2 separate regions of the Homo sapiens genome follow, and region 2 is linked to region 1. Evidence: promoter capture Hi-C in 16 types of primary human blood cells and fetal thymus (Javierre and others, 2016). All regions are on one chromosome and are shown on one strand. The core of a region is centred on a gene start or on the middle of the fragment in contact, and the rest is flanking DNA. Distances in the headings are between cores, read along the strand shown. Region 1 holds the start of ANKRD40 (ankyrin repeat domain 40). Region 2 overlaps MYCBPAP (MYCBP associated protein).

Evidence for each region. Contacts are between HindIII fragments. The CHiCAGO score rates a contact against its expected background, and 5 or more counts as called.
Region 2: a fragment that was not itself captured here is called in contact with the fragment with the promoter of ANKRD40 in region 1 in 2 of 17 cell types (M0 macrophages and megakaryocytes); the score reaches 6.6 in M0 macrophages.

The regions. Positions count from the first base shown.
Region 1 is chr17:50,705,792-50,709,710 of GRCh38, reverse strand. ANKRD40 (ankyrin repeat domain 40) reads left to right here and starts at 1,797. Exons shown (of 5, transcript NM_052855.4): 1 at 1,797-2,190. The coding sequence starts at 2,057. RefSeq lists silencers at 1,852-2,061, 2,192-2,461. The HindIII fragment of the contact is 9,335 bases long and covers 1-3,919 here.
Region 2 is chr17:50,515,366-50,519,148 of GRCh38, reverse strand. It overlaps MYCBPAP (MYCBP associated protein), which reads right to left. Exons shown (of 19, transcript NM_032133.6): 2 at 2,452-2,579; 3 at 1,697-1,856; 4 at 1,451-1,554; 5 at 425-608; 6 at 60-175. Among named protein-coding and RNA genes, the nearest start is that of MYCBPAP, 8.8 kb to the right of the region's middle. The HindIII fragment of the contact is 2,146 bases long and covers 290-2,435 here.

The DNA of each region.
Region 1 (3,919 bases), core at 548-3,047:
CAGGAGAATCGCTTGAACCTGGGAGGTGGAGATTGTGGTGAGCCGAGATCGCGCTGTTGCACTCCAGCCTGGGCAATGAGAGCGAAACTCCTCCATCTCAAAAAAAAAAAAAAAAAAAAAAGAACTCATAGACTTTGGGGTGCAGTCACGAACAATTTTTTTTAACTGCATTAAAAACAAAAAACAACAACAACAAAAAAACAAAAACAGGCCAGGCGCGGTGGCTCATGCTTGTAATTCCAGCACTTTGGGAGGCTGAGGCTGGCAGATCACATGAGGTCAGGAGCTGGAGACCAGACTGGCCAACATGGTGAAACCCCATGTCTACTAAAAATACAAAAATTAGCCGAGCATGGTGGCACAGGCCTGTAATCCCAGCTGCTCGGGAGGCTGAGGCAGGAGAATTGCCTGAACCTGGACTTAGAGGTTGCAAGGAGCTCAGAGATCGCCCCACCGAACACCAGCCTGGGCAACAGAGTGAGACTCTGTCTCAAAAACAAGCAAACAAAAACAACAAGCCACTACCTACTCCCATGTCACTGAAATTGTGTTGAAGGACTCAAATCCAGTGCCATACACATCAGTTTCAGATAGAGTATCATGCTGGATGTGAGAATTAAAATTTAAATTGGGGGAACAAATGAAAATGTAAGCTCAAGCAGGGTTACAATTTGCCATGGGGGTCAATTTAAGTGTGTAGTCAGTTTATATTCAGCACCACCTGGTGTGCACTGTGTACTGTGTGAATTACTGTATCATACTAAACAAACAGACATTGGTTTTTCTTAAACTGTAGCAAGAAAAATGCTTGCTGTGCAGATCCCAGCAGCCCCAAGAGACGGAAATGAAAACTCCATGCCTAAATTTATCCCTTCCTATTTCATCTCTCCTTGTTCAGGCCTTCCTCCCTTCCTCCCCAGGGCTATTTCCTTAATCTTGACCCCATCTGTAAAGTTCCATCCTGTGCCACATCGGAGGATCTCTTCAGGGCACCTGGGCTCAACAAAACAATATTTCCTTTTTCTCCCACTGGGTATAAAACAGTGCCAACTGAGGCTCTGAGCCTCATTAGATAGATCGGGCAAGAAGTGAAGCAAAATGCTGTTTACATGTACACCACAGCTCTTCCCAGAGCACTTGGAATCAGGACCAGGACACCTCCAAAGCCTCTTTGGTGTTTTTCCTTTCTTTTCTCCTTATATGGCCTTCATGAAGAGTAACTAATTACAATCTGTAAGCAGTAATTACAGTTCATAAACTGTGAGCACAATATAAATATTTTTCCTGAAAGCCAGGTTAGAAGAAATCCTGTCTAAAATGAGATGTAAAACAACAACAATTGAAATAAATATTCTAACTGAATTGTCCCCAAGCACTGTCAAAAAGAAGAAGAGTCTAATCTATCTCTGTAATAATGGGCGTATTATAGTAGGATCGTTTTCAGCCCATTTCCCCATCCTGCTGGGCACGAATTGGCTCAGATAAGGAAAAGGAGCCAACCAAACTGGGGGAAAATAACAAAAAAACCCCAAATCCCAATAAAAAGAACCCACCAATTATTTTGGATGCCTGGTAAACAGCCTGCACCAGAGGATAAGGCTTTTCTGGCCCTCAGCTATGCTTTTTTCTCTTTTCATGTGTCTTGTCCTCCTCCCTTGAAACTGCGGGGTGGGGAAGTCTAAAAATAGTCAATGAATCATGGCATATAATATTGTGCAGTAGTTACATAAACAGCCAGCCCGGGCGCCGGAGCCCCGGGTCGGAACGGAAAATATCTGGGTCAGCGTTGTCACACTGAACAGGGTCCCCCGGAGCCGGCCTTCGGGAGGCGCGGCCCGGGAGGAGGCCTGGGCCTGCGGGCCGGGAGCAGCAGGGGCGGCCCGCGGGAGGGAGCGGAAGTCCCGGGGCGGGCGCGGGCAGCGGCGCGAGCAGGGCGGGCGAGTTCCGCGCTCCCTCCCCATGGCCGGGAGCGGGCCGCGGCGACGGCGGCGGCGCTGACAGGCCCCGGGCGGGGCGGGGCAGGCGGGCCTGGGCGGGGGCCTGGGGCTGTGGGAAGATGAACGCCCTCCTAGAGCAGAAGGAGCAGCAGGAGAGGCTGCGGGAGGCCGCGGCCTTAGGGGACATTCGGGAGGTGCAGAAACTGGTGGAGAGCGGGGTGGATGTGAACTCCCAAAATGAGGTCAACGGCTGGTAAGTGGGGAGCGGGGGAGGCCTAGGGTCAGGGCAGCCGGTCGGAAGGCGTGGGGCAGTCAGTCGCGACCTGGGCCCAGCGCGGGACGCCTGGCTACGGCGAGGCCTGCCACCTCGGGCCTCCGAGATTGTGCTCTCTTGAGGCCAGCCCTGGCCCCCATGCCTCGTGCGGTCGGGAGCGCGTCCTGCCCAAATCCCGGCCCACGTGGTCCACTCGGGGCAGCGCCCACTGGGACTCTGGTGCCCTACCCCCTTCCCCCGCGCTCCCGGCTCACTTGGTCAGAGCGGTGCTGGAGGCAGTGATTCTCAGCGACTATGCGTTGGAGCTCACCCCAATTCGAGTGTTGAGTTAATTTGCCGTAGGTGCTTCTGGAGAACGCATCTTGCAGAGCTAAAAGCATAAGCAACTGAGCAAATATGAATTTTATAAACTAGCACGATTTCCTTAGCCAAGACCAGGAAAAAAAAACACATTTGCATCACCATTCTGCTTCTCTGTTGTTTCACTGCAACCGATTTGCTGCTGCTGCCTGTAGTTGCCTGTTTGAGGGAAAACTCATTTGTTTATCCTATCGATTATTTTCTTTCTTTTTTTTTTTTTTTTTTTTTTTTTTTTTGAGACAGGGTCTTGCCCTGTCGCCCAGGGTGGAGTGCAGTGGCATAGTCTCGGCTCACTGCAACTTCTACCTCCCCGGCTCAGGTGATCCTCCTGCCACAGCCTCCCAAATAGCTGGGAATACAGGCACGCGCCCCCACACCCGGCTAATTTTTTTTTTTTTTTTTTTTGGTATTTTTGGTAGAGATGGGGCCAGGTTGGTCTCAAACTCCTGGCCTCAAGTGATCCACCCGCCTCAGCCTCCAAAAGTGCTGGGATTACAGATGTGAGCCTACCGTTCCTGGCCAGTTTTCTTATTACAATTTCAAATACAGAATGTCACCCAAGACTTTAGATGTCTGCCTGCAGATTGAATTCTTCCCAATTAAATAAGGAGTCTCATCTTAAGATGTTGCTGGTGGTCAAAACAGAAAGTTACTGAATGTGGCATTATTCCGCTCTCTGCATTTAAAATTTAAAATTTTGATTCAGGTAATGCTTAGCCAGACTATTTTGCTAGCTTAGAGTTAAAGTGAGTAGCACTTTGGGAGGCTGAGGTGGGCGGATCACGAGGTCAGGAGATCAAGACCATCCTGGCCAACATGATGAAACCCCGTCTCTACTAAAAATACAAAAATTAGCTGGGCGTGGTGGTGCATGCCTGTAGTCTCAGCTACTTGGGAGGCTGAGGCAGGAGAATCACTTGAACCTGGGAGGCGGAGGTTGCAGTAAGCCAAGATTGCACCACTGCACTCCAGCCTGGGCGACAGAGCAAGACTCTACCTCAAAAAAAAAAAAAAGTGAGTTTACATTTTGTTTTTTTAAGTGGAATCATCCATTTTGGAACTGAAAGGGACAATGGAGAGAGGCTCAACCACAGAGAATAACTTGCCCTAGGCCACATAACTATTAATATGATAGCACCAGAACCATGGTTTCCAGACTGCCTCAAAAGTCTACCTACCTGGACCTGGCGCGGTGGCTGACGCCTGTAATCTCAGCACTTTGGGAGGCCAAGGTGGGCAGATCACGATGTCAGGAGTTCGAGACCATTCTGGCCAACATGGTGAAACCCTGTCTCTACTAAAGATACAAAAATTAGCCAGGGGTAGCGGTGTGTGCCTGTCATCCCAG
Region 2 (3,783 bases), core at 113-2,612, 190 kb after region 1:
CCCCGCCCCCTCCTCCATGGACCCCCCTGCCCCCGGGCACTTAGGACAGGTGGCCTCACTTTCCTATCACGCCGGGTTGGAAGTGTGCAGTCAATGAGCTCCCGCTCCTCCTGGATCCGTCTGTAGGTCTCCCCGGTGTGCATGAGCAGCTCACTCACTGGCTTCTTTAGGTGTTCTAGAGAGAGAGGCAAGATTGCCGCCACTCTGCCGAACCAGAACAAACAGGGGCCTTGGCAGTCTGCATCGGGCAGCCTCCCTCACAGGGCTGATTTCAGGATCCACTGAAGCTTCAGAGTGAGACACTCTTGGGAGTGAAAGCACAAATGTGGTCAGCCCAAGGCCAGGCTCTGGAGGAGAGCAAACAACCCAGCAGAGCCTTGCTGCCAGATGGAGGCCGGGCGGGAGCCCTGTCTGCTCTGCTCACCGCTGAGGGCTTCCTGCTGCTTCTTCCGCAGGGCTGTGTTACGCTGCCAGTTTTTCAGAAAGTTGTGCTGAGGAGGTGGGGCCCAGGGAGGTCTCTTCTCTTCTTTTGGGGCTTTTTGCTTTGACTCTCCTTCAGCAGAGATGAGGGTCATCAGACAGGGTGAGGTAGGTATCCGCTCAGCCAGCTGAAAAGTACAACATAGGTATGTGGAGGGCAGTAAGAAGGCTCTGGGCAGGGCTGAGCACACATTTCCCGAGGCCTAAACCCGTGCTGTTATCCCACTGCGCTGAGAGTCCCTCCTCTTCAGGACTCCAGAGTAGCCAGTGACAGAAAATAAATCCCAGAACCAGGGGGCCCTGAAAGCAGCTGTCAGTCCACTCTCCCCCACAAAGGGAACTTCTGTTTCAAGATTGGGGTCAACATCTAGTGTATTTGTCCTCACAACTGATGTTGATTGCCACCTTCACCCATGTGTAAATGGAAGCATTCTTACAGGGCCCCAGGCCCCTTAGCGCCTGACCAATCAGAGTCAGCCTGGAACCAGGGAAGCAAGGGGAAGAGACAGGTGAAGCACTGCATGATGGGAAGGCTGGAAAGATACAGAATCTTCCCGTGGCCCAGGAAGCAGTGGGAAGCCACCTTCCTCCACCACGTGGACTGAGGAGGGCAGGCCAGTCTCCAGAGAAGGGAAAATCAAGACAGTGCACAGAGCAGAGGGAAATGAGGCATGTGGGCCCTGAGTCCTGATGCCTTTTTGGGTGCAGTCTACCCAGACCCAGGTACTCCCGCCTTTGGGTTCCATGAGGCAATCTCTGGAATCCTTACAGTAAATCCCTGACTTCACTGAAGCCAGCTTCAGCTGCCTGAAGTGTCCAACTATTCTGGGAGAGGGTCCCTTATCAACTCAGACTCAAAACCTACAGACTAGACTGTCTCTTTAACCCCAGCCCTGCTTGACTGTGTCAGGTGGGAGACCAAAATGACTTCAGTGACTGCTCTCATCCGGGTAGTTCTGTGCAAACAAACCTGGGTGTTCCCTCGAGCAAGTGCAATTCTCTTAAAATCCTGGAGACTCCCCAAGATGTGGTGGGGCAGGATCTGGTCACTGCCATCGAAGCTGTCACCGGGACCTGGGAGGATAAAAGAAGAAAGGGGAAAGAAGCTGTGGGTGGACAACTTTCAAGAGGGCAACTTTCTGATGGAGACTGGGTTTCTCTTGAGGCTGACCCATGAGTTGAAAGACAGTGAAGCCAGGGCTGAGACTGGGTGTACCGGAGTAGTCCAGAGGCTTTGTGGCTTCATCAGGATTCGCAGGACGTGCTACAAGGTGGCAGACCTTCCTCCTAGGATCCATGGGTTTGAGTTTACGGATGATAAATTTCTGGGTGATGACACGTTTATCTTCCTTTTCAGTAAGGCGAGGAATGTGTTGCTAAAAAGAAATAAAACAAAGGAGAATTCCACCTGTGGTGGCAGGAGGAAGAGCACCACCCATCTCTTCTGTTCTAGTTCTGGGTGGAGTTCCTGAAGGCTGACAGATCTGTTTCTTCAGCTCTGTCCATATGTTCTGTCAAGGAAATGCCTGTGTAACAGATATGTGACTTAGTAATATCCTGGAGGGAAAAAAAAGAACATCTTATGCCTCCAGACAGTTTGGGTGAGAGATGGCTGACTCTCCCAGGTAAAGCATGGGGTTAGGGTTTAGCAGCTTTACCCAGAGCTGTACCTTGGCTCCTTAAACTCATCCTCCGGTCTGTGAAATGGGAATGATGGCACCTACCTCTATGGGAAGCAAGATACCTCATCATCTCATTTCCCCTGTGGTTCTATATGAATCTCAGAAATGTTAAAACAGACAACACAGTGAATTCCTTAAGGTGGTAAAGTGAAAAGAATCTGTGTTCAGTGGGTTTTTCCATGGAGTTAGACACTCCCCATGAGTAGGGACATGGCTGGTGTTCTAGACCACTCAGGCTGCCGGCAGGGAAACGTTTCTATGGTAAGGGAAGCTTGGGCTTCATCCTCACCTCCTTCAAGTCTTCCTTCTTAATGGCCAAGGCAAGAATGTCATCTCCTTGTAGGACATTGCTAACAGGTTCAGGCTCTTCCTGAATTGTGGGTGTGGGTTGTTCAGGTCCCTTTGCCCGCTTCTTTTCTGAAGAGAAGCAGAAAGTTATTAAGTCCTTAAAGAGCTCCTTCTGTATATATCAATATATACATACAAAAATAAAAGTAAAAATATATACTAGACTCCATGGTGGGGGGCAGAGCTGACCAGCTGGATAGATAGCAGAGGCTGCCAAGGTGGCCTGGGTAGCACTTTGCTGGGGCAATGGGAGTTCTCTCTGGAGGGTCCCCCTACCCACAGCCCCTGGCTCACCACAGTGACTAAGACTTCTGTAGCCAGAATTGAGATCAGAAGATGTTTCGTTTCAGGCCAGGTGTGGTGGCTCATGCCTGTAATCCCAGCACTTTAGGAGGCTGACACAGGAGGATCACTTGAGGCCAGGAGTTCAAGACCAACCTGGCCAACATGGTGAAACCCCGTCCCTACTAAAAATACAAAAATTAGCCAGGTGTGGTGGCCCATGCCTGCAGTCCCAGCTACTCGGGCGGCTGAGGCAGGAGAATCACTTGAGCCCGGGAGGTAGAGGTTGCAGTGAGCTGAGATCGTGTGACTGCACTCTAACCTGGGCAACAGAGTGAGACTCTGTCTCAAAAACAAAACAAAACAAAACAAAAAGATGTTTCATTCCGGGTGCCGTGGTGCAAGCTTGTAATCCCAACACTTTGAGAAGCCAAGGCAGGAGGATTGCTTGGGCCCAGGAGTTCAAGACTAGCCTGGGCAACATAGTTGAGACTCCATCTGTACAAAAAAGATTATTTTTAATATACAAAAAAGATGTTCCATTTCAGGCTATGCTATTTATAAGCTGGACAGTCTTGGGTACGCATCACTTAACCTCTCTAGGCCTCAGGCTTTCCATGTGTAGAAAGAGTCAGTTGGACTAAATCAGTGGTTCCCAAGTTATTAGTCCAATGTCTGCCTCAGAATCTTTGGGGGAGTTTTATGAATACAGCTTCCTGACTACTGCATGGAGCCAGGGCCTAGGGAGCTGTACTTTTTTCAACTCCCTAGGTGATTCTGATGCACAGTGGTTTGGGACAACTGAACTAGATGTTTTGCCAGCCTCCTCCAGTGCTGGCACTGATCCATGCTTCTGGGTGAAGGCACAGGGTTTCACAAGACACTGGTTAAAGTGCAGAATCTCTGTGGGGGAAGCAGAGCATTCACCACTGGCCATTTATTGCATATTCATTTAATAAAGATTGTTTAAGCAGCTTCTACATGCCAGGCA